Linked DNA regions of Homo sapiens: regions 1, 2 and 3 are each linked to region 4. Evidence: promoter capture Hi-C in 16 types of primary human blood cells and fetal thymus (Javierre and others, 2016). All regions are on one chromosome and are shown on one strand. The core of a region is centred on a gene start or on the middle of the fragment in contact, and the rest is flanking DNA. Distances in the headings are between cores, read along the strand shown.

What was found. Contacts are between HindIII fragments. The CHiCAGO score rates a contact against its expected background, and 5 or more counts as called.
Region 1: a fragment that was not itself captured here is called in contact with the fragment with the promoter of CREG1 in region 4 in 1 of 17 cell types (fetal thymus); the score reaches 6.2 in fetal thymus.
Region 2: a contact is called between a fragment that was not itself captured here and the fragment with the promoter of CREG1 in region 4, in 1 of 17 cell types (total B cells). The highest score is 5.4, in total B cells.
Region 3: a contact is called between a fragment that was not itself captured here and the fragment with the promoter of CREG1 in region 4, in 1 of 17 cell types (fetal thymus). The highest score is 6.4, in fetal thymus.

Annotation. Positions count from the first base shown.
Region 1 is chr1:167,033,228-167,040,044 of GRCh38, reverse strand. No RefSeq gene overlaps it. Among named protein-coding and RNA genes, the nearest start is that of GPA33-AS1, 16 kb to the left of the region's middle. The HindIII fragment of the contact is 4,515 bases long and covers 1-3,951 here.
Region 2 is chr1:166,957,745-166,964,253 of GRCh38, reverse strand. It overlaps ILDR2 (immunoglobulin like domain containing receptor 2), which reads left to right. Exons shown (of 10, transcript NM_199351.3): 2 at 6,153-6,485. All of the region lies in intron 1 of LOC124904449 (a long non-coding RNA gene), which reads right to left. Among named protein-coding and RNA genes, the nearest start is that of ILDR2, 15 kb to the left of the region's middle. The HindIII fragment of the contact is 6,424 bases long and covers 1-4,707 here.
Region 3 is chr1:166,977,851-166,983,702 of GRCh38, reverse strand. It overlaps a transcript of MAEL not described here. Among named protein-coding and RNA genes, the nearest start is that of ILDR2, 5.2 kb to the right of the region's middle. The HindIII fragment of the contact is 1,490 bases long and covers 559-2,048 here.
Region 4 is chr1:167,549,604-167,556,026 of GRCh38, reverse strand. CREG1 (cellular repressor of E1A stimulated genes 1) reads left to right here and starts at 2,265. Exons shown (of 4, transcript NM_003851.3): 1 at 2,265-2,639. The coding sequence starts at 2,286. RefSeq lists a silencer at 2,127-2,576. The HindIII fragment of the contact is 3,087 bases long and covers 286-3,372 here.

The DNA.
Region 1 (6,817 bases), core at 445-2,944, 520 kb after region 4:
TTTGTGAGCAAAGGACGTGAATAGACGTTTCTAAAAAGAAAACATACAAACAGCCAACAGGTATATGAAGAAAATGTCCAACATCACTAACAATCAGAGAAGTATAGATCAAAACCACAATGAGTTATCATCGTACCCCAGTTAGAATGGCTATTAAAAAGGAAAAATATAAAGGAATAAGGAAGCTATCAAAGATTATTAGAATTGTGTCACTAGGACTCAGATGTCAATCTAAATAAGTTTCCACTGGCCAAAAGACAGGATGACTTAAGCAATGATAATAAAGATAATTATTACAGTAAAAACTTTAAAACCACATATCCATTTTTATAATGATACTAAAATAACCACAACAACTCACTGGTGCCCTTTGGAAGATGCTAGGAATAACCCACATTATTAATTTAAAAATAGGTAAATAAAACATTTGTTCTCTCTTTCTTAAATGATTAGAAAAACCAGATATTTGATATGGTGTGTTGGCAGAGGGGCTTCTCTTTGCAAAAGTATTTCCGCTGAAAAGAAAAAGAAAAAGAGAATGGGATAGAATTATAGTATCGTTATGTTTCAAAACCTACTGAAGTAGTGGATTTGGACAATGATCATCACCCTCAAAAAAGAAAACAACAGAGACTGTCCCTCCTATTAGAAATACAAACACCACCCGTAAAGGCCTGAGGTGGGGGAAAAATGTGACTAAGTATCTAGATGTAATTACCAGTTCATAAGTGATACAGGCCAGAGGAAAACATGTTAAATGATCTTTTAGGGCAGCCATGCAGTCAGCAAAATCAAGACTATAGGAAACTACAGTACAACTATGGAAAATTACAGAGCTTGTTTTATCACAAAATTTTTTAAGTTTGCAGAAAATGAAGGGGAAACCTACAGAATAAAAGAGACATATCAATAAATTAGAATATATGATACTTATTTGTATCTCAATCCAAACAATCAAAGTGTAAAACAAAAAGCAAAATCAAAATCATTTCTAAGACAAGTGAGAAAATGTGAAGACTGACTACTGAATAATATTAAGGCATTATTATAAATGGATTTTAGGTGTGTACTGAGATTGCCTGATTTTTTGGGTTTGTTTTTGTTCTTTTTAGTCCTTATCTTTCGAAGGCACAGACTGAAATCCTTATAAATTAAAATAATATGTTTGAAATTTGCTTCAAAATAATCTGGTGGGAGGTATAGGGAATGGGTGGGGGTATAGGTGAAACAAAATTTGCCATACTTGTATTGATAGCTGTTTAATCAGGGTGAGAGGTACACTAGATTCTTTATATGTTTTCTCTACTTTTGTATGTTTGAAACTTTCTATAATAAAAAGTTAAACCAACAAAAACAACAATAAAAACAAAAGCCCTATATCAAATAACAAGATGGCCCCAGCATTTTGATTGAAAAAAAGTATAGGGAATCTCCCTTCCTTCCTTCCTCCCTCCCTCCCTCCCTTCCTTCCTTCTTTTTTTCCTTCCACAAATATTTATCCATTATCTACTCTGTTCCAGGCAATGTAAAAACAGCAGTGAACAGCTATAGTAACCAAAACAGCATGGTATTGGTATAAAAATAGACACATAGACAAATGGAACAGAATGGAGAACTGAGAAATAAAGCCATGTATTTACAGCCAACTGACCTTTTACAAAGCCAACAAGAACTTACATTGGAGAAAGGATACTCTCTTCAATAAATTGTGCTGGTAAAATTAGCCACATGCAGAAGAATGAAACTGGACTCCTAGCTCTCACCATATACAAAAATCAATTCAAAATGGATTAAAGCCTTAAACATAAGACCTGAAACTATAAAAATACTAGAAGAAAACCTAGAGTAAACTCTAGGACATTGGTCTATGCAAAGAATTTATGACTAAGACCTCAAAAGCACAGGCAACAAAACCAAAAATAGACAAATGGGACCTAATTAAACTAAAAACTTTTTGCCCAGCAAAATAAATAATAAACAGAGTGAAGGGACAACTTGTTGAATGGGAGAAAATGTTTGCAAACTACCCATCTGACAGGGTACTAATATCCAGAATATAAAAAGAACTCAAACAACTCAACAGAAAAAACAACTCCATTAAAAAGCAAGCAAAGAATGTGAATAGCTATTTCTTAAAATAAGGCATACAAATGCTCAACAGGTATATGAAAAAAATGTTCAACATCACTATCAGAGAAATGCAAATCAAAACCACAATGAGATATCATCATACCCCATACCCCTTTTTATAATGGCTACTATTAAAATGACAAAAAATAATGGATGCTGCTGAGTATGTGGAGAAAAAGGAATTCTTACACATTGTTGGTGGGAATGTAAACTAATACAGCCACTATGGAAAACAGCATGGAGATTTCTCAGGAAACTAAAAATAGATTGACCCAGCAATCCCACTACTGGGTACCTACCCAAAGGAAAAGAAATCAATATATCAAGGAGATACCTGCACTCACATGTTTATTGCAGCACTATTTACAATAGCAAAGATATGAAATCAACCTAAGTGTCCATCAGCAGATGAATGGATAAGGAAAATGTGGTATATATACATGATGGAGTACTATTCGGCCATAAAAAAGAATGAAATCATGTCATGTACAGAACACTGATGGAACTGGAGGTCATTACCTTAAGTGAAATAAACCAGACACAAAAAGACAAATATCACATATTCTCACTTAAATGTAGGAGCTGAAATATTTGATTATGTGGAGACAGAGAATAGAAAGATAACAAGAAGGGTAAGTTGAGGGTAGACAAAGTTGAAGAGAAGTGGGCTAAAGCACCCAAGTGTACACTTATATAGAAATAATAAATTTAATGTTTGATAGCAGAGTAGGGAGACTATAGTTAATAAAAACGTATTATACTCAGGTGATGGCCACCCTAAATACCTTGACTTGGTCACTATGCATTATATATATGTAATAAAATTTCACATGTACGCCATAAATTTGTCCAAATTAAAAAAAAAGCAGTGAACAAAGAGAAAGACAAATTTCTTTTCCCTGTGGTGGGAAAAGGTAATCCTAAAAAAAATGAATGAGTAAAACAAAGTATGTCCAATGCTTATAACTACAATGGTGGATAATAAATCAGGCCAGGGGGCTACAGAATGTGGATAACTGCTATTTTGAAGAAGGGGTCAAGACCTCATTGAGAAGGTGACATTTGTGTCAACACCTGAGGAAGGTGAGGAGAGAGGTATGCAGATATCTACAGGAAGAGTATTCTGGGCAGATGAACCACCTAGGGCAAAGGCCTTGAGGCAGAAGTGTGCTTGGAGTATTTAAGGAAGAGTAAGGAGGACAGTGTGGCTGCAGCAGACGGAGCAGAGGTGTGTGGGAAGCAAGGCCAGGGAGATAGTGCAGGGTCTTAGTGGCTACAGAAAGGACTTTGACTTTGAACTTTGACATGACTTAAGATGAAGAACCAGTACAGGTTTGTTTTTTTTAAGCAGCTTTATTGAAGTATGCATTAATTTCCTGGAGCCGCCAAATAAATTGCCATCAATGTGTAGCTTAAAACAGTAGAAATTTATTCTTTCACAGTTCTGGCAGCAATAAGTCTGAAATTGGGATATCTGGAAGCTGAGCTCTGGGGAACTATAAAATTTTGAGAAAGGGAGATAATGAAAAAGCAGCTAAGACTGAGGAGCAACCAATAAGGCAAGAGAGAACCAAGAGGATGCGTGGTCCTAGAAGCCAAGTGAAGAAACTGTTTCAACTGTGTCTACAAAATATTGCTTATAGGTCAATTAAGTTGAGGACTGAGACTTGGACCATTTGATTTAGCAATGTGGAAGTCACTGGTGGCCTTGATAAGAGTAATTACAGTTAAGTGACATGGACAAATGCCTGATTGAGTTCAAGAGACAATGGGAGGAGAGAAATTGAGGACAGGAAGAAAAGATAATTCTTTTGAGAAGCTTTGCTCCAAAAGGGAGCCAATAATGAAGCAGTAGACAGAGAGGGGCTCAAGGGTTATTTTTATTTTTAATGAGAGAACTAATTGTACAGTGATGGGAATGATCCAATTGGGAGGGAACCGTTAATGATGCCAAAGAGGGGAGAACTGCTGGTTCAACACTCTGAGTCTGGGATAAGATTTAGAGAAGAGGAGAGTTATTGGCCTTAAGAGGAGCACCAACAAGTTATTCATTCTAACAGGCAGGGTTGAGGATGGAGTGGGGGACACAGCATATGGTGGTGAGAGCTTATAGAAGTTCTCTTCCTCAGTGAAGTGTGAAGCTAAAAGTGAGGATGGGAAGGAGATGTCGGCATTTTAAGGAAAGAAGAGAAGGTATGAAAGAGTCATCTAAAAGAAGAGTTAGCGAGTGAGTGGACTAGGAAAAGAAAAGCATGACTTGAGAGGCAGTGGATGAGGGAAATGCAGTAGTGTTAAGGGCCTCATTGAGGGTGGTGGTCATGAATTCACAGTGAGACCAGGTAGCATGGCAGTGTGCTTTTCTTCAGCGTTATTCAGATGTGTAGGTGTTGGTGTGAAGTGGGCAGAGAGTTGTGTTTAGCAAGGCTTTAGATTGTGCCACACAATTATTTAGTAAGGGAAGTGGGAATGTATACCAGGGAGTGATCATAACACTTGATTGTGGACTTTGAACATGGTAAGGGTCAAAATGTGAACAAAAGCATTGTATGACACAGGAAAAAATATGATTAAATTAATGGGTTGTAGGTCCCATTAAACCTACAAGTTCAAAAATAGGAGAATTGTTTAACTTGGGGTGCCAGAATTTATGAGCTAAAAATGGAGGTGGCGAGCAGAGAGTATAATGTTGAAATGGAAGGTGTGGAATTGTGATATTGGTATATGTCTAAGAAAGTGGACAGTAGAAGCAGGGTGAAGGGCAAATTCCTGAGGAGAGGATGTCAAAGAACCAAGACATCTGATCCATGAGAAGATCATCTCATGGAGACTGAACTCTCCAAGAACTAAGGCAGAAGTAGTGTTGGAGAGTGTGACAGAGCTCAGAGCTAAAATAATCAAAGAATGAGTGGGAGTGATCTGGTGGAGTAGATGACAGCAACAATGAGGAAGAGTGGTGACATAACTTGTCAACCTGACCTTCCCCTGAAGTAAGTCATAAGACCCTCATGTGAGAGGTGCCCTTCCTGTACCTGGAGGAAAAGGAAAGGAACATCCTTATCTCTGAAGATCAAGAGATGCCAAAAAGCATATGAACAGGCAGGCCTCGCTAAGTTTCTCCCAGTTCATTACCATTAGACCATACCAATTCATCCTATCGTATTTCTCCATGACTATCCATTCTTTATGAAATCTATGAAAAAAACACTTAGGTTTAATTGTTTATTCAAGTCTTTATTTATTTATCAAGTCTCCCATGTTACATAGAACTTATAAATGTGTATGCTTTTCTCTTGTTAATCTGTTTTTTTTACAGGATCTCAGCCATGAACCTAAGATGGGTAGAAGAACAGATATCCTCCCCACCTCACATAACAATTTCCATTTTTTCAAAGAAGGAATAAAGAATATGACTGTATGCCTGACTGTTATAGTTCTATAGGTGTATAATACTTTGGAAAAATACCCAACAACTGGCCACATTGATGTCCTGGGGAAAGGAATTAAGTACATGGGGACAATGGTGTCATCCCTAGGGGTTACCATGTATCCCTGGTAACTTTTGAATTTGAGCTGCATACATACAATGCCAATTACAAATAGTAATAGTGATATTAATTTAAAAGGATGTCTTTTTGTTTTCAAGTTGGGGAGACAAAATATACATACACTTCTTATTATAAAATGGAAAGTGTTTAGTGTCCTAAGAGAGGCAGAGATGAGATTGCATTCCAGACTTGGCTAGAAAGTCAGGGCTGGTGGAAATTTAGGTACAAGTGTGAGTTTGTATTTTGTTTAAATATACTTCAATGGAACTGGAATGAATGCCCCAGTCTCCAAGTTCAGGTCATGTTCAGCAGTGCTTTAGCCTCCAACAAGTTTTTTGGGTAAAAGCAGGTGCCAGAAAATATGTAAAGTTCCATAAGGGTGCTGCTAGCATCTGGTAAAAGTCAAGGGTTTAATATTACTAGTTAAAAGCTTTTTAAACACTCATCACCTTCTTTTGTGATCTGTTCCAGTGTTGAAGTAGCTGTGCTTAACACCATTGTGTGCCAGCGGGAGACAGAAAATGCATGTTATTTTTAGCAAAGTCTAGTGCAAATGGTGGATGCTCTTTGGACTCTGCTGGCAGATTTGATTCTTAGCTCCTGGAAAGCCAAATTTATTTAAATTGCCATCCTTGTATGTCGTCTCAAAGAGTGAAATGAACTTTTCCAGTTCCTCAAACTGTGATGTGGTGGGTGAATAAAATCCCAAGGTGGCATCCAACTAGGACTGGATTGAACGTTTCTTTCTTTTTTCTTTTTTTTTTTTTTAAAGCTAAGTAAGGACACAGAGTTTCAGCTCAGCAGCTGATAAAGACAACTGATTTACTGGAAAAGCACACAGAACTCTTCCACCTTTATTTTCTAAAACAGGAAAATTCTCAGGCAACTCATTAACTCTAGCTCTTCCCAAATCAACTGTCTTAAAGATTAAGATACCCTAACTTGAGAGGAAGAAAACTCTATACTTCAATATTTTACTGCCCAAGTCACCAAAAAGCCTCTCATAAAATTTCTCTTTATTATTAATTAAAGAGACAGGGTCTTACTATGTTGCCCAGACTGGACTCGGACTCCTGGGCTCAAGCAATCCTCCTGAGTAGCTGGGACTACAGGTGAGCACCACTTTTCTTCCTTGAATCTAT
Region 2 (6,509 bases), core at 246-2,745, 590 kb after region 4:
TAGTCTGGTGGTCTAAGAATGATGACTCCCTCCTCTGCAAAGCAGAAAACCACCTGTGGTCTTCAATTCTAGTGCTTCTTTTAGTGAGGAATTCTTAAATTTTTTTTTTTTTTTATTTTTAGATTTAGAAGGTCTAATTTTTACAGGTATACTCTCTCCAGTATAATTCTTTACCTTGCTTCACTTCTTTTCCTCTCTTGCTCTCTCTCCTAAGGTGCCTCTCTCTAGTTTTCCAGAATACCTGCTTTAGTTTATAGGGTGAAGCACAGGTTCTTTCTGCACCTCTGTAAATTTCTTTATAGGAGTTTGAAACTCAAGTCCCATATGGTGTTACCAGTGCCTGGACTTGGAGGCCCAGCCTTCCTGTTGTACCAGCGTGTGCTTGTTTACGTGTGGGCAAGACCCTTTTTCAGTGCTTCTCTATGTCTGCCTCCCAGGAACTCCTTCAGTTACATGGCCTGATATTTGCCCAGGAGGAGGGGATAACATACTTATAGTCAAAGGGTTGGAAATATTTCAGTATGGCTGGAGCATACTGGGGGCCATGTCAAGGAGAAAGTTTTATATGCCATGTTGGGGTATTTCAATTTTGTCCTGGAGGGAATGGGGAATCGATGGAGGCCTTAAAGCAGGAACTGACATGATTGATGTGTGTTTTAAAAACGGTATTCTAGAAAAATATGGAGAGTGGATTGGGTTGGAAGTAGGAAGACCATTTAGTTGGCTATTCTCAAACCCAGGTGGTGGTGAGGACCTGTGTGAAATGATGGTGAAGATCTTTGGAGCCAGTCAGTCTAGGTTCAAACCTAAACTGTCACCTGCTAACCTTGAAATGTTAGGCAAGATACATACATACATACATTATCTGAGCATCAGTCTCTTCGTCTATAAAACAGGTGTAATAACAATGCCTACTTTATAGGATTTTGAGAGAATTCATTAGGATACTACATGAAAAGTGCTTAGCACAATCCCTGACACACAGTAAGCATTTTACAGCTATTTTCTAGTAGCAGAAATAGAAACTTGATTTAAGGGAGTGACAGTGGGAATAGAGAAAGATCAAAGTTGAGAGATATTTAGACTTAGCGACCAACTGAATGTGGTCAGGGACAGAGAGGAAATTATCAAAACTAAGATTTCTATCTAGGGCAATAGATTAAGTGGTATTTTGGCAAAAGAGCAAGGGATAGAGAAAGGATGAGTTTATAAAAAAAGAGCTAGGGTGGGAAAAGAGGAGACGATGAATGAGGTTTAGACATGTTTAATTTAAAGTGTTTGTTAAATATGCAGATGAGGCTTAAGGGAGTTGGGGGTGTGAGACATAACTGGTAGTTGGAGCCTTGGGAGTAAATCAGATTTCTTAGATCAAATGCACAGCTTATCACTACAAAGAGGCTGAAAATGTTTAATTTATCTGGAATTCAAATGTATAGTTACATATTCTTATTAGCCTGTATAGACTCCAGCATAAGAAGTACTTGTTCTTGGTACCTGGTTTTTGGCATCTGACAAGTAGGAAAATTGAAAAACGAAAACAAAACTCTAAGAGGTAGGACCCCAGCTCAGGATACTCCCCTACTCCCAGGGCAGACCTCTCGGGAATGGGAGCCAGAGAGAGGGTATCTCCAGGTCAAACTTCAGTGTCCACAGGAGACTGGCAATCCTAGTCCCCACCCAAATTAGCTACCAGTTCTGAGGGGCCTGATCTATGTGGGTCCCATGAGAGGTATTTTTTGAAGTTGGATGGATGGCAGCATCACAGTTTCAGATTTGGATCAGCCATGCATGAAGGTATAGGAAACAATACCCAACCCTCAGGAGAAGGGGCTGGTATTAGGGCCCCAGACAAGCAGGCCAGAGTTCAGGGCAAGGGTTCTCAGACCCAGTGGAGCAACTGGATTGCAAATCAGGATACCAAGGTGGAAAAACAGTCTCTAAATAAGGTAAACACAGGTTGAGAGAAAGAGATGCTGCCCAGTTGTATAGGACACCTAGACACCAGGGATCCAGGGTTAGGGCCAGAAGAGCAATTCTAGACCCTACCCTCCAGTGGGAATGGGGGTCCCGATAAACTTGGTCAGGGCAGTTTGGGGACTGGATGGCATTCATCTAACAGTTTGAAACCTGTAGTGTGGAAGCAGGGATTGGCATTTTTACTTTTATCTCCAACACTTCACTCTGTGGTTCTCAAAGATCCAATAAACTCACATTTACTTGGAATTCTAGTCCTGTCTTCTCCAGATCTACCTTTAGCTTAGAGTCCCATTGTGCCTGTACATGTATACATGTGTATGCATGTGTGCATACACGTGCAGGGTTACTCTCTACTTCTGAGTTCCAGGAGGTGCATAAGTGATGTGCAGTGAGGAGCATACCCAGGCACTGTCACTATTGAACTCCTAATGATGTATTCTAGCATTCTTGTGCAGTTTTTGCCCTGTACACACTCGGCATCTGACACCTTGATCTCTGTACTTGCGTAGCTCTAGGTTTGTAGCTTCACAGAAGTCATCAGACTGCTCTTGATAGCCTCAGCAACATTAGCAACTACATTTATTGAATGCTCACTGTATACCAGGTATTATTCTAAATACTTAGGATACAATCTTACTTAACCCTCAAACAACTCCATAAGGTAGTTACTATTATTCTGGTTTTGCCAGCGAGGAAACTGAAACTCATCAGAGTTGAGTAGTTTGCTTGAGGTCATGTAGAACCTGGATTCTTACTTAGGACTGACTGCAAAATCCATGCCTTTAAGTATCATGCTATAAAAAGGCAGATGTTTCTGAGAATGTATTTTTTATTTTTATTTTTTTGGAGCATGAGTTTATGTTTATGTCATAGAAGCTGAGAATTGACCAACCTCTATTAATAATTGATTAAGAGAGTCCAGTGGCTTGCTCAAGTGGCTAATCTCATTAACAGAGAACAGAGCTTGGAAGGAGGCTATTCTTAGTAATTATCTAATGAACAAAACCCCAAACTTCCTCTCTAAAAAAATAAATAAATCTCACTACACTTTTGTAGAGCACCCACCTGGGTGATGAAATGGTCTGTACACCAAACCACTGCAACACACAATTTACCCATGTAACAGACCTGCACATGTACTCCTTGAACCTAAAACAAAAGTTGGAAAGAAGAAAAAAAGAAAGGCTAAGAAATGTGATTTCCCAAGCAGTGCCAGAATAGCAGTGGAGCAGAAAAGGGGTGTGGTCAAGCACACAGCCTTGTATGGGAATGGTGCCTGTGAGTGGTTATCCAGCCTCAACCACTGCTAATTGAAGTCATTTCACCTCTCTTGTCCCATTCTTATTACCTGAAAAATTGAGGTGTAACTATTTGAAGAATAATTACAAGGTTAAAAAATTAATGCGCTAGAATTTAAGGAGAAACTATAAAGAAATTTATTTTCCTAATCTAGCTTCATAAGTGAGGGAGAATGGAATTAGCCACATCAACATTTAGTGGTGGTGAAGGGAAGCATGGGAACTAGGGTTCTTCAATGAGCTTCCAGATGGAATTGTTTGCCTTTTGATGGGGCTGATCTACATAATCTGGATGTAATCAAGCCTGGTGGTGATGTATGGTTATCAAGATTCAGGATGGGAGGTGAGGGGAAAGTTTGGCAAGGTGAGGGAGAATTAGCATTTGAGACCTACTCTTTACCGGTCACAGTGCTCTTCTACTGAGTCTCCTCTCTGAAGGTGCCCAATGAAAGAATGTTTGTTAACAACTCTGAGAGTAAGCATTATGGTGCTCATTCTATAGGTGAGGAAAATGAGTCTCAGATTGCTTAAGAAACCATCATTAGTGTATGGTCAGATGAGATTCAAAGCCATTCCTATTTGATGCCAACACTATTTTACTACACTTCTGACTCATTTAACTAGTTTCATCTGCAAAGTCCTAGAAATTCCCATATTAATAGCCATTCACTTGCTCATACATTTCTTCATTTATTCTGTAGGTAGCTATTGAGCACAGGGTAGGTCCAAAATGCTTTGAGATTTGATAAATCTCAAATACTCTGTTGTATTCGCTTCCAGATGTTACAGAATGCAGAAACCCTTTTCCCCAACAGGAATTAGGACCTACTTTTTCATTGTTCCTTTCATTGAATAGAGACATTGGTCTGGATGTCAGAAGATATGAGTACAAACATGTATCTTGCCCTTGTCAAGGGTCCTTCAGTAAAGAGGCATATTCATAAATAAGTTTATGCTTTAGCTGTGGGAGTGAATTGGCTTTGCAGGATGTCATTGTGAACACTGGCACTAATAAAGGACAGGACTCCATGGAAAGTAGTCCTTTTTTGCATGTCTCTGCCCCAAGCTACTTGAAGCTGACTTAGCAGTCTCCTGGATTCAATTTGGAACTTCTTTATCATATCTTCATATTCGTTTTTTCTGCCTCTCATCATATTTCTATTTCTGCTTCTAACCTCACATCAAGCTAGAAACTCTTGACTCTCCCATTCAACTGAGAAAGTTATGTTCCCTTTGCTTGGAATTTCTAGATCTTATCATTGAGTTCATGTGGGACCTTTGCTTCTCAAACACTCCCCTCGTCTCTCATTCACTGAAATTTCTCATTCTTTCTTGGTCACCAAGCATCAGGTTGGATCTTTTTACCACTTAAACTTCTCATCTGCTTTTTAGCCCCCACTTTTTTTCCTTCTTTTGATTATCCTTCAAAGCTTTGAACTTAGTCTACTGCATTTGATCTGAAATCCTCCATTTCTCTCAAAGACTTATTTTCCTTTTCATCTCTGTCCCCTTTGCTGGGTCACCACTGGAAGGGAAGTCACTTCCTCCTGAAGTGATACTTCCTGGCTTCATTGTCATTATTTATCAAATATTTGTTGAGTACCTATGGGCTTCACAAGCCAGGGCAGCAAGGGAAGATACCTTCCACACCTGACGAGTCTGACAGGCCTGACAGGCATGAAAAGAAGTACTCGGAAGACTGTGAGAGTAAATGTTTAGAAGAAAATGCTGGGTGTACTGATAGCACAAAGGAGGAAGTGATAAACTTATTGGTCAGAGAAGGCTTTACAAGAAGCCCTTGAACTGGGTTTTAAAAGATGCAAAAAGTTGCCCAAGCAAAGAAGTGAGGAAAAAGCATCCCAGAAACAGGAGACATCATGTGCAAAGACCTGGAGGCATGAAACAGGATATCCCACTGGGGAAGCTATTAGTTGTTTGATATTCTTGGAGCTTGGTGCTCAAAGAGAGGTGTTTCAAGAGGTGAGAGGTGAGGCTGAGGCGGTAAGAGGAACTAGATGACGGAGTACCTTGCCAAGGACTTTGGGTTTTATCCTGAGGGCTATGGAGGATGAGTGAAGGGTCTTAAGAAAGAGAGCCATAACAATCAGTTTAGAAAGATCATCTGAACTGTAGCAAGAAGAGTGTACTGGATGTTGACAGATTAAAGGCAGGGAGACCAAACAAAAGATTATTGTAATATTTTGAGGAGGAAATGAAGAGAGTCTAAGGAAAGGCAATAGTAATGGGGTTAAAGAGGAGGGAAGAAATATTAAAGATGTTAAGAGATTAAGTTGATGTGACTTAATGCGTGACTGGATATAGGGAGTGAGGTTGTATTGGTCCGCTCTCACACTGCTATAAAGAACTGTCTGAGACTGGGTAATTTGTGAAGAAAGGAGGTTTAATTGACTCACAGTTCCACAGGTTTAACAGGAGGCATGACTGAGAAGACTCAGGAAACTTACAATCATGGTGGAAGGCAAAGGGGAAACAAGCACCTTCTTCACATGGCAGCAGGAGAGAAAGAGAGTGAAGGGGGAAGTACCACACACTTTTAAACCATCAGATCTCGTGAGAACTCACTCCCTACCACGAGAACAGCACAGGGGAAACCCACCCCCATAATCCAGTGACCTCCCATCAGGCCACTCTTCCAATTTGATGTGAGATTTGGGCAGGGACACAAATCCAAACTGTATTAGAGGGCATATTTCTGCACAAAGCAACCAGATGGATATTAATGCCATTAATTATAATTGTGAAAATGAGGTTGAGGGGACACAAGTTAGGGAAGTGAAATGGAAAGGTGTGATCATGTGATGGAAGGTGAGGTCCAGGATATGGACACTGTTCGGACATGTTTATTCTGTTTTGCAGCCATGGTCGAAGGCCTTCAGGTCACAGTGCCCGACAAGAAGAAGGTGGCCATGCTCTTCCAGCCCACTGTGCTTCGCTGCCACTTCTCAACATCCTCCCATCAGCCTGCAGTTGTGCAGTGGAAGTTCAAGTCCTACTGCCAGGATCGCATGGGAGAATCCTTGGGCATGTCCTCTACCCGGGCCCAATCTCTCAGCAAGAGAAACCTGGAATGGGACCCCTACTTGGATTGTTTGGACAGCAGGAGGACTGTTCGAGTAGTAGCTTCAAAACAGGGCTCGACTGTCACCCTGGGAGATTTCTACAGGGGCAGAGAGATCACGATTGTTCATGGTAATAATGCCCCTATTTTGAATC
Region 3 (5,852 bases), core at 54-2,553, 570 kb after region 4:
TTTTTTTTCTATTTTACTTAAGTCCTACATAAACAGAACAGCTTTCCCCATTTTCCAACCAGATTGATTTTTTTCTATTCAGAAATTCTAAAGGGTGGCAGGTTTGGGTTGAAATATGTGGAGGGGGTGGATCAAGAGTTCTATTATGGACATGTTCATTTTGAGATGCCTACTATATATTCAAGTGGAGATGTCAAGTAGGCAATTGACCATGTAAGTCTGGAGTTCTGGGCTTGAGAAAGAATCCAGAAGTAAGCCACATAAAGATGGTATTTAAATTCATGAACTAGATGAGATCATCTAAGGAGAGAGTGAAGAGAGAGAAAAAAAGGATCCAGGATGGAGTCCTGAGGAACACTAGCGTTTAGAAGCCAGAGAAGGAAGACCCAGTAAAGATGACTGAGAAGAACATGTGAAAAAGTAGGAAGAAAGGCAGGAAAACCAAGAGAGGGGAGTGATTCCAGTAGCAAGTGGTTCATTTATTCAATAGATATTTATTAAGAGCTCACTGAATACCAGCCTCTATTTTAAGCACAATAGGTTGAATAGAAAAAAGCTTATAGTGGAAAAAAACCCAGGTAATAAATAAATAAACTATTATGTATATAACAAGATGTCAGAATATCTTTTTGGACAATAAGTCCAATGAAGAAAAATAATGTAAGATAAGGGAATAGCAACAGTTAGAGGGTACAATTTTAGGGTGGTTATTAAAGGCCCTATATGAAGAAATGAAATTTGAGCAACGACTAGAAGGAAGAGAGCAAGCAAACCATGAAGATATCTGGAGAAGAGCATTCCAGGCAGAAAGAATAGCAAGTGCAAAAGCTCTGAGGTGGGAGCATATCAGGTATGTTTGAGGAAAAGCAAAGTAAGTCACATGGCTGGAGTAAAGTGAGTGAGGGGGAAAGTAGAGAGAATATTAGAGAGGGAGGTAGGGCCAGATCATACAGGATTTACAGGGCCTCCATAAGGACTTTAGATTTTTGTCTAAATTGGGGGAAACCACTGGAGATTTGGATGACTATTACTTTTTTTTTTAATTAAGTATAAGGTGTGATTTTCAACCAGGTACGTGTTATGCAAACCACTGAAGAGCACCACAAGTGTTCTTGGAAAATGTGGCTGAGTTTTTTCCTGATGGTAGTTTAAGTGAAGGCCAACATTATTCAGCGTGCATCTTCCCTCCTGTGCTAATAATAATAATAGTAGTAATAATAGGTGACATTCATTGCAAGCTACATCCAGCTTTCTGCTAAACACTCCACAAGGGTTATCTTATCTCCCCTTCACAACAACCCTATGAAATAGATTCCATGATTATCCACATATTGCAGAAAAGGAAATTGAGGCTTAGAGTGGTGAAGTGACTTCCACATGCCACACAGCCTTTGAGTGACTTTGACATCTATGAGATCCCAAGTTAACACTCATTCCAATCTGTTTATCTTAGATGTTCAAGGTTATTACCTGATGCTTTGCCAAAGTTAAGTGATAAATTTCTGAGTACCATCTAGACATTGTTTGAATGTGCTCTCAGATCTTTAGTAACTCAACCTGATGTCTGGTTGATTCCTCCTGCTTGCAATATACATGTGAATTCTACCTCTTGTGACTCCTTGCAATGTCTTTCTCAATTGATGTTAGCATTCTCTTCGTGCTGCCCCTTGTTAGGTGCTTGTTACTTCTTGAGCTCTTGTAATGAGCTCTCCCATGGAAGAGACCTCAATCTGTTGTCTCTGTCTCCATCAATTCATCCTACACCCTGTGGCCAGAATAACTTGGTTGGGACACAGGTCTGATCTTGTTCTACTTAGAAATTCTCATGGATGGTACATTGCCGGTGGAATTACATCCAAATCTGCTATCCTGGTTTCCCTTGGTTCAACCTCAGCCTACCTTTCCAGCCTTATTGCTGACTCTGCCTTTTGTAAACCTATGCTCTGGGCAGCAGTTCCTATTCTCACCTCTGCCTATTGCTTGTGCATCTGTACTACCTCCTGCTCCCTTTCTGCCCCTAGAAATTCTGTCCAGATGATGTTAAAGCTTAGCTCAGGGGTCACCTTTTCATGAAGATATCTCTGACCAGGACTACTGATAACTAATTGACCCTCCCCCACTTAATTTTCCTACCATATTTGGTACATGTCCTAATACAGGCCCTGTCACACCATCATAAAGACCACATATTTGCCTCCCTCCCTCCCTCTCTACACACATGGAGACAACTCAAATGTAAGCTATTTGACATAAGGGGCTGTGATTCATTCATCTTTGAATTCATATTCGTTTTTAATTTCTAGATAGCATAGTGTCTAGAATATAGTAAGTATTCAATAAATGTGTGGAATAAATGAATGAATTCAGGGAAAAGAAAAGGAGAGATGACGAAAAGGTAAGATGAATACACTGGGGGCAGTTTGTAATTAATTAGACAAGTACACATTGATCATCTCTATGTAAAAGGCACCTACTCAGAATTGGGGAAGGAGTACAGAATTAACACTTCTATGAGAGATCCTCGCCCCGCTACTTCAACACAAAGGTCAGGGCTGCTGTTTTCTAACCCTGGTCTTTAAAGCCCACATGCCACTTCTCTTGCTTGAGCAGTTTCTTTTCATGGTGCTCCATGTTCTGGCCTTCTCATTCTAGCTCTCTTCCCTGCCCATTTGCTGGGGGTGAGGTCATCAGATGACATATTTGTTCTGGCTCATTTCCCTCTCTCAGGTTCTGTCTTTGACCTATGCCAGGAAGAAGGCCTTTAGGAGAATGTGTAGGGCTGAGCTCTGAGAAACAATCTTCTGGCTAAATCACCAAGACCCAGAGCCCAAGGCAGCTTCATCGTGTAAACTGTAGGGCAGCCAGTTACCCTTTCTTCCTATAGCCTTTTGGCTGTAGGAAGCTGCTTGACCACTAGTATAAGAATTGCTCTGCTGCTCATCTGGGGGGCTGTCAATGCTCTTCTGGTCTCCAAAGGATGCTAACCATGAAATAAAAACAGAAACAAAAGCAAAAACTGGAGACAGGGCTCCTAAAAGAGCAGTAACCTTCATCTCTGGCTCTGTAACTTTCAGAGAAATTATAGGTTGCACTGTCAGTAAAAGCTCCCAGGGCTCAACTGCTCATAATTAACTTGATTAACTGCTCACGAATGAGACATAATGAGAGCAGGTGTACATGTGGGGGCTTTGTATCTGGCTGAAGATACAGGCCTGACAAAACACCTGTCACTCCTTCTCCTTGCTTCTCTCCTTTCTGCAGGGATGTCCTAGAGACTGGAGGACAAATTCACAATGAGTAAATTTTGGCATGGGCACAGCTTTTGTCCAGCACCTTTTCCTATATTATAGAAATATTAGAGGGTATAGAAAATTATAGGCTGGGCACAGTGGCTCAAACTTGTAATCCCAGCACTTTGGGAGGCTGAGGTTGGAGGATTGCTTGAGGCCAGGAGTTTGAGACCAGACTGGGCAACATAGCAAGATGCAGTCTCTAAAAAAAAAAATACAAATTAAAAATTAGCTGGGCATGGTGGCATGCACTTGCAGTCCCAGCTACTTGGGAAGCTGAGGCAGGAGGATAGCATTGAGCCTAGGAGTTCAAGGTTGCAGTGAGCTACGATGGCACCATTGCAGTCCAGTCTGGGTGACAGAGTCAGACCCTGTCTCTAAAAGAAAGAAAGAAAGACAATTATAAAGAAAAAATATAAATGAATGATGATCTTCCCAGAGATAACCATTGTTACTCATTTATTTCCTTTGTCCCTTTTAAATGTATTTTTTCATATTTGATACCAAGCTCTAAATATACTTTTATGTTCTTTTTTTCTGCACATTATCCTTGGATGGACCTTTTTAGGGAATGCTTTGGTAGAGAGCTAATTCAGGCAAGGGCTGCCCCCACTGTTGAGCAGGATCTAGCTTTAGGATGGGGCACACAAAGCATCACCTAATTCAGCACCCAGCACCACTGCAGTTGGATTTGAAGCCTGAGACTGCAGGTTCTTGGATTAAATCTGCTGGAAGTACATGGAATTTTCAACACATTCTCCCAGGCTTTTACCTTTTTAAATTTCTAGATAGTGTGGTGTCTAGTGTCCACTGTTCTTGCCAGTTCAGATTTTGTTTTGTTTTGTTTTGGCATAATGCATTTGTATACTTGCATTTCCTTTCTTTAAAGCATTTTCTTAATCAAACAATTTATTCAACATGAAAAGACTTCAAGATTGAAAATGTTTTTGGTTTTCAGTATACGGTGCCTAGAGTCTCCAGTTTTTTTAGTTCCTTGGTTTTCTGGGTTCCAGTTTTTTTAGTTCCTTGGTTTAATTTAGTTTTTTTTTTAACTTATAATTCATTGAGGATGGTTTTGAAGGTATGGAGGATGGGAAAGATAACAAACCCAAAAGGTAGCAAGAGAAAAAAAAAGATGGACCAAACTTACATGAGAAAAATGGTATCTGTTTCAGAGTCATACTTCGTATATTCCTCTTGGAATGCAGGATCAGAGAGGAGAAGTAGAAATATGATTTTATCTGTGTGCTTTAAACAGACTCACGTTAAGCAGTATTCATGTGCATGCATGCCTGTGTGTCTGCAATGAAATCATGTTTTAAAGAGGATTCAGCTACATTATATTTATAACTATGTGGTTGCTACCAGCTACCAGTATGTCTCCTTGTGGTGGTTCACTTCTCTTTTCTCTGTGTCCTAATTCTGTTCTCTAGTGTAGAGCTTTGCTGAAGCAGCCTGTTAGTCCCCCCACCACATACAATCCCAGCTGTGGCTTCCTGGGAATCTTGTTCTGGTCCCATACAGGTCATTGTTGTGACATGTTTGTCTCATTGCAGTAGAAAGTTTGAAGTATTGCAGAGCCAGACCCCTTCCTTGGCTGTGATGAATCAATCTCTCTATTTGGGGTCCTGTCCTATTAGGTCAGAATGAATGAACAACTGGAGCTTAACCAGATACAAGGCTCATTAGAAAACATCAGCTCAACAGCTTCTCAGGAGAACAAAAAGATAGGTATTGCTTCTTAAACATTACTGTGCATTGGAAGCACCTGGGGAAAGTGGTTAAACTGCAGATTTATGGGCTCCACCTGGAGTTTCTGAGCTCATTATTCTTAGTAGAGCCTGTGAATCTGTGTTTAAGCAAACACAGTAATATGATCCTGATACTGGAAGTTCAGAAACCACATTGGGACTCTGGGTGCCATATCCCATCACCCACCACCAATATGGCAAAATAACACCATTTTCCCATCCTCTTTCCACCTCCATCCCTTAGGCTACATGTTTTGAATCATTACATATATTTCAAAATTTATATTAACCCTTCATCACCTTGGTAACAACATGTGCAAGGTGATGGAGGGGCACACATTGTGATTCACTCCAGTTTAGCATCCCCTTCAGGATGGCCTGGGCGCCACTCACTCAGGAAGATTCAGGATACACCATGTGTACCTCTCTGGCTATAAAGTAGACATGCAGGGCACTACATGGAAAACACATTTCTGGGATGATGGACAAGGCAACTGCATTCTATGATTCATTGTGGCACAAGCTCTTCTCCAAGTCTCCTGATTCAACTACACAGACACCTCCTCTGAGCAGACATGAGTTCATTTCTGTGGGCATTCACGTTCCACTTCATATACACATCCAGGCTTCCTTCACTCAGTCCATCTCCCATTTTTCACATGTATAAACTTGCTCATATGTCCAAGTTTTGCATAAAATGCCATTTTTTTTGAGACAGGGTCTCACTCTGTCACCCAGGCTGGAGTCCAGTAGCGTGGTCACAGCTCACTGCAGCCTCAACCTCCCAGGTTCAAGTGGTCCTCCCATCTTA
Region 4 (6,423 bases), core at 1,016-3,515:
ACTAACACCACCATACAGTCTTTATAACAACAATTACAGTGGAAATTTGAGGCCAGGCCAAAAAGATTAAGACTTGCTCCAAAAAGACGTGACCAAAGCTTAAAGTCATAAAGAATGGAGGCCAGGTGCTATGAGCTTATTGACCAGTTTCCAGAATAGCAGAATCAGGAGCACCCGTGAGAGAATGAGACAGGCCATCTTAGAAGAAGCAAAAGGAATGTCCCTTACATGGAGCAGGGAAGGGCAGCGGGGGCAATAAATTCATGAAACCGCCGACCCCAAGCTTAATGTCTTAACAGGTCCTGAACTGGTAAGTTCAAATTTGTACATGGGATATTGATAGTAGACTAACAATCCCTTTGTGCGTCTATATGAGGGACTCCTGGGCCAGTAGTTTAAAAGGTCTTGACGGGCAATAACAAATGTTGGTGAGGATGTGGGGAAAAGGAAACCCTTGTACACTGTTGGTGGGAATGTAAATTAGAATAACCGCTTTGGAAAAAAATTTGGAGTTCCTCAAAAAATTAAAAATAGAGGTACCATATGATCCAGCAATCCCACAGCTAGGTATATCCCTAAAAGAAAGAAAATCAGTATATTGAGAGATGTCTGCACTCCTGTGTTTACTGCAGCACTATTCACAACAGCTAAGATTTGGAAGCAACCTAAGTGTCCATCATCAGATGAATGGATAAAGAAAATGTGGTATATATACACAATGGAGTACTATTCAGCCATAAAAAATGAATGGGATCCTGTCTGTCTTTGCAACAACATAGTTGGAACTGGAGGTTATTACGTGAAGTGAAATAAGCCAGGCACAGAAAGACAAACTTCACACATCCTCACTTATTTGTGGGAGCCTAAATGGAAACAATTGAACTCATGGAGACAGAGAGTAGAGGGATGGTTACCAGAGGCCAGGAAGGGTAGTGGGGGGACTTGCAGGGGAGGAGTGGGGATGGTTAATGGGTACAAAAAATAGTTAGAATAAGACCTAGTATTTCATAGCACAACAGGGTGACTATAGCCAATAATAATTTAAGTGTACATTTAAAATAACTAAAAGTATAATTGGATTGTTTGTAACACAAAGGATAAATGCTTGAGGCAATGGATACCCCATTTACCCTGATATGACTATTATGCATTGTATGCCTGTAGCAAAATATCTCATGTACCCCATAAATGTATACACCTACTATGTACCCACAAAAATTAAAAATTTTAAAATAAGTAAATAAAAAGTTTTTTAAAGGTCTTGAACTTTCGGGCTTCTGCCTAACTTTACTACTAGTGTAAGTGGGCCCCTTGAGATTTCAGCACCCCAGCATTTGTTAGTGACTGAAATAATGAAAATTCTGATCAGGCCCTTGCTTGCACATGTTGACAACTCTCTTTTTGCCCAATATCCCTTGTTCCTACAACATAATCATAAACTGCTGATGTACTGTTTCTTTATCAAGCAGGAGGAGATAATAACTTCAGGGTTACGAAAAAGTTTGCAGGAGGAATAAGTCCTTTGAAGTACTTTGAGGCCAGCTTCTGTCGCCCAGAAGTCTGATTGTTCAAGGAATTATCTGAGACTGAAGAAACACAGACTTTTTCCCTCGATTCCCTGAAACTCCCCCTCCCTGACTCGCTGGCCGCATAAACACTCTCTGCTTCTTCTTTTTGTTAGGGCGGATTTGAGAGATCTTGCCCTCCCGCCTTCTCGCTTTGGCCAAATCGAATAAACTTTTATCTCCAAGCACCTATATGTCAGTGTTTGGCATCAGCTACACATGGGGTACACGAGCCTGAGTCTGGGCTTCTACAACGCTGGGACCCTCGCTGTTCTTTGGAGCTGATGGTAAATTCAACAGAAAAGAGGCGCATGGGTAGAAAATGCAGCATTTCCTCTCAGATGCCAGATATTCATCTCCAAAGGTATTAAAAGGAGGGGGTGTGTGCCTGTGTAAAGAGGCTGGTCTTTTCCTAGCAGTACGATTTGGGCAAGTTGCTTGATTTCTTCAAGCCTTTCTTTTTCCGCCTGTCAAACAAAACAAAACAAATATCCCGTTTAGGACAAATTCACAATCCTTAAAGAGGGCAGGCAGAGCGATTGGAATGCAGATGAACCAATCCCTTCTCCTGCAGGTTGCGGAGCTGCAGAGGGACCCCGCCCCCTGCATTGTGCTTAGCTCTGATTGGCGCCTCGCGGAGGGGGCGGGGCCTGGGCGCGCCGAGCTCCGGCTGGGTCCCTGCAGGTCTTGGGGCCCGGGACTCTTCCTGGAGACACCGCCATGGCCGGGCTATCCCGCGGGTCCGCGCGCGCACTGCTCGCCGCCCTGCTGGCGTCGACGCTGTTGGCGCTGCTCGTGTCGCCCGCGCGGGGTCGCGGCGGCCGGGACCACGGGGACTGGGACGAGGCCTCCCGGCTGCCGCCGCTACCACCCCGCGAGGACGCGGCGCGCGTGGCCCGCTTCGTGACGCACGTCTCCGACTGGGGCGCTCTGGCCACCATCTCCACGCTGGAGGCGGTGCGCGGCCGGCCCTTCGCCGACGTCCTCTCGCTCAGCGACGGGCCCCCGGGCGCGGGCAGCGGCGTGCCCTATTTCTACCTGAGCCCGCTGCAGCTCTCCGTGAGCAACCTGCAGGTGAGCTGGGGCCCGCGGCTTCCCCAGGCGGGCTGTGGGCGGGGCGGCCACAGAGCGAGCCTTCACTCTCCCCAGAATTCTTCCCGGGAAGTGGAGCGTGGCTCGAACGGCTGTTGCTTCTCTGCCGCGCAGGCAGGTAGGTGGGCGTTGCAGCGTCCCAGATGTTGGGCAGCTGGGTACCAGGAATTTCCCACAAGCCTCCGCCACTGGGCCACGCACCTGGGGTAAATTCTCTGCCAGCAGCCCGAGGACTTCTCATCCGTGAGTGGTTCTCAGTCGTCTTGGGGCCCAGTGTCTCTATTAACTGTGCTCCTATTCTCTTTTTTTTTTTTTTTCCCTTTGAGACAGAATCTCACTTTGTGGCCCAGGCTGGAGTGCAGTGGCGCTATCTCAGCTTACTGCAACCTCTGCCTCCCAGGTTCAAGCGATTCTCGTGCCTCAGCCTACCGAGTAGCTGGGATTACAGGTGCGTGCCACCACACCCGGCTAATTTTTGTATTTTTAGTAGAGGCGGGGTTTCACCATGTTGGCCAGGCTGGTCTCAAACTCCTGACCTCACGTGATCCACCCATCTCAGCCTCCCAAAGTGCTGGGATTACAGGCGTGAACCACCGCGCCCTGCCTGGGCTCCTATTCTTAAAGGTTTTACAGGGCATAGAGATTGTTAGGTACTTAAGCACTTTAATATGTGACTTCAGGGTTTCTCACTCTCTTACCCTTCCTGAATTAAGCTTTTCCCTCCTGCAGCAAGACGCTAACGTACAATATCATGGACGATTACAATGATTACTGCAGTCTTTAGGCCTCCACAGGCATAGTGGCTCCTCAGTAAGATGCAGAGCTGATTGAAGGTGTATCTCTTCCTCGCCCTTTGCCCACCTTCTGGTGCAGGGCCACACTTACAACTCTGATGGATCTCTGCTGTCTCAGGGATGGGGTCACAGACACCCAGCTTGGGAGGCCGGAGACACACAGAGTCCAGGAATGGAGCCTGATTTGATGGAGGGTCTTTTTGACAAAGCTCTCACATTTGAGTTCAACTCTGAAAGTACAACATTGTTGATAAAGACAGGATGCAAGAAACTGATGCTTGATTAATCACTTTTCCATTTGCCTTCCATTCGTTGTCTCTTCTATTAATTCTTTGAAGTAGGTATTATATACCCCATTCTGCAGATGAAGAACTTGAGGCCTACCTAGGTTAAGTAACTTGTTTAAAGCCAGCGGGCAAACCCCTAGTTTCATCTCAGGTTCATCTTTCTTCAAACCACCTATCACAGGCTGGTGGCCCATCAGCTGAATATGTCCCACAGACCGGTTTGGCCTACACAAAGTTCTGTTTTGTTTTTAATAAATTTGAATTTGTTACCAACATTTTAAAATTTAGATTTTACTTTAAAATGTAAATCTCTAACTTTTCTTGAAAAATGGGAAGATCCAGTGACACTGTGGGCCTGCACTCTTTGAGCAAAAACAGAAGCAGTGCCCTCTTTTAGCTAAGGCAGATACACCCCAGTTCACCATTTTCTTATTCCCAGCCCATTCCACACCTTTAGGCGTTTGCTCAAAACAAACTCACTCCACTCCATCAGTGGTGCTCAACTTTGACTGCAAATCATAGTCACCTAAGAAGGCTTTAAAAATGGGATGCCAAGGTATTTTATTGAAAGCACATTTTATTTTAAGACAACACCCCTTCCCGCCTCCCCACAAACCACTCCCTGATGATTCTAATGGGGGAGGAGGGAGATTGACCAATACATAATCATATTTAAATTTGTGAGGTGACTAGGGAGTTGCTGGTATTATTGTCCCCATTTAGGAAGTGAGGAAACACAGACTCAGAGGTGCAGGGACTTACCCTGTGACCAGTCAGCTAATGGCTGTCAGGTAGGACATTAGCCCAGGTCTTTCATGTTTCTAGAAATAGACAGGGCAGTGGCAAGGAACCTACCCAGGGCTTTAGGTTTCCATGATGGCAGTGAAAAGAAGTGGCCACATTAGAATTTGTCTGACTTGATTCCATCAATTAGCAGGTCAAAGTTTCTGCTTTTTTCTTTTCCTCCTCCTGACCTCCAGGGTGCTCTGCATTTCTTCTCATTGACAGGGGGTGAAATCGTTCAGAAGGAACAAAAAGACCTAGGTTTGGGACCATTTCTCATGTGTAAAATACCTGTCCTCTGTAACTTAGAGATATGTTGTGAGCTTCAAACGTACTTACCACTGGGCTGTTTCTTTTGTATGTCTCTTTCTTTGTGGCATTTTTGTATAGTAAATGTCTGTAGGACAGTGTTGCTGATGTTAGCTTATAGTGGGACCGTGTTTGGCTGCAGAGCCAGTGAGTCTGAAGGGAAATCTTGGGGTTTGATTATTTGCACCAAGACCTCTTACTATTAGCCTCCCTTCCATTTTGGCATTCTTTTCTTGTGATGTGCCCCTTTCTGTTCTGGTCACTCTTGGTTTTTTTTCTCTGACCCACTAAAATAAGTATCCCTCAAAGTCAGTTTCCTACTCTTTTGTTCCCTGCAGCGATCCTCAGAAGATTGTATACACTCTCGTTGTATACATTCTCTTCTAGTCCTTACTAGGACTCACTTCCAGATGTGTGTCCATTTCTGACCTCTTCAAAGTTCTCTATATTTCTGCTTGCTGTTCATTTTTGCTTCGTTACTTTGCCACCACTTCAAATTCAACATGTTTAAATCCAGTCCTTCTTCCTCCTGAAACAAGCTGCTTTTGATCTTCTGCATTTCTGTTAGTGGAATTATTGTTTTCTCAGTAAACCCAGTTGGTTCTCACTGCCTCCCCAAATCCCTCAGTTCCCAAGTCCTGACAGTTTTTTGTTGCCTTCTTTACCTCTGTCCTTGCCCCTTCCTCTTCATTCCTGCCACCTCATCCTTAAGCTTATCATCTCATGCCTAAAAGTACTAGAACAGCTCTTACATAGTCTTCCTGTCTGCCCCATCCACCTTGCCTACCCAAATAGATTAACAAAAATACCTGTCACAGCATTGCCCTCTGGCCAGAAACCTTTAACAATACCCAGCTGCCTATAGCTGCGTAAGAGCTACCTGGGATGTTTGTTTAAAATGCATATAGAGGCGGGTGCGGAGGCTCCAGCCTGTAATCCCAGCACTTTGGGAGGTCGAGGTGAGCGGATCACCTGAGGTCAGGAGTTTGAGACCAGCCTGGCCAATATGGTGAAACCCACCTCTACTAAAAATACAAAAATTAACTGGGTATGGTGGTGTACGACCGTAGTCCCAGCTATTTGGGAGGCTGAGTTGAGAGCATCAGTTGAGCCTGGGAGGCAGAGGTTGCAGTGAGCTGAGATCACGCCATTGCACTCCAGCCTGGGTGACAGAGCTTGATTCTGTTTCTAAATAATAAAATGCAGATAGAGGACAGCTTGGTGGCTCATGCCTGTAATCCCAACACTTTGGAAGGCCGAGGTGGGAGGATCACTTGAGTCTAGGATTTTGAGACCAGCCAGGGCAACACAGTGAAACTCCATGTCTACAAAAAATAAAAAAATATTAGCCGGGTGTGGTGATGCACATCTATAGTTCCAGCTACTCAGGAGGATGAGATGGGAGGATCACATGAGCCCTGGAGGTTGAGGCCACAATGAGCCATGATTGTGCCACTGCACTGGGTGGCTGCCTGGGTGACAGAGTGAGACACTGTCTTAAAAAAAATATTGCAGGCCAGGTGCGGTGTCTCACGCCTGTAATCCCAGCACTTTGGGAGGCCGAGGTGGGTGGATCACAAGGTCAGGAGTTCA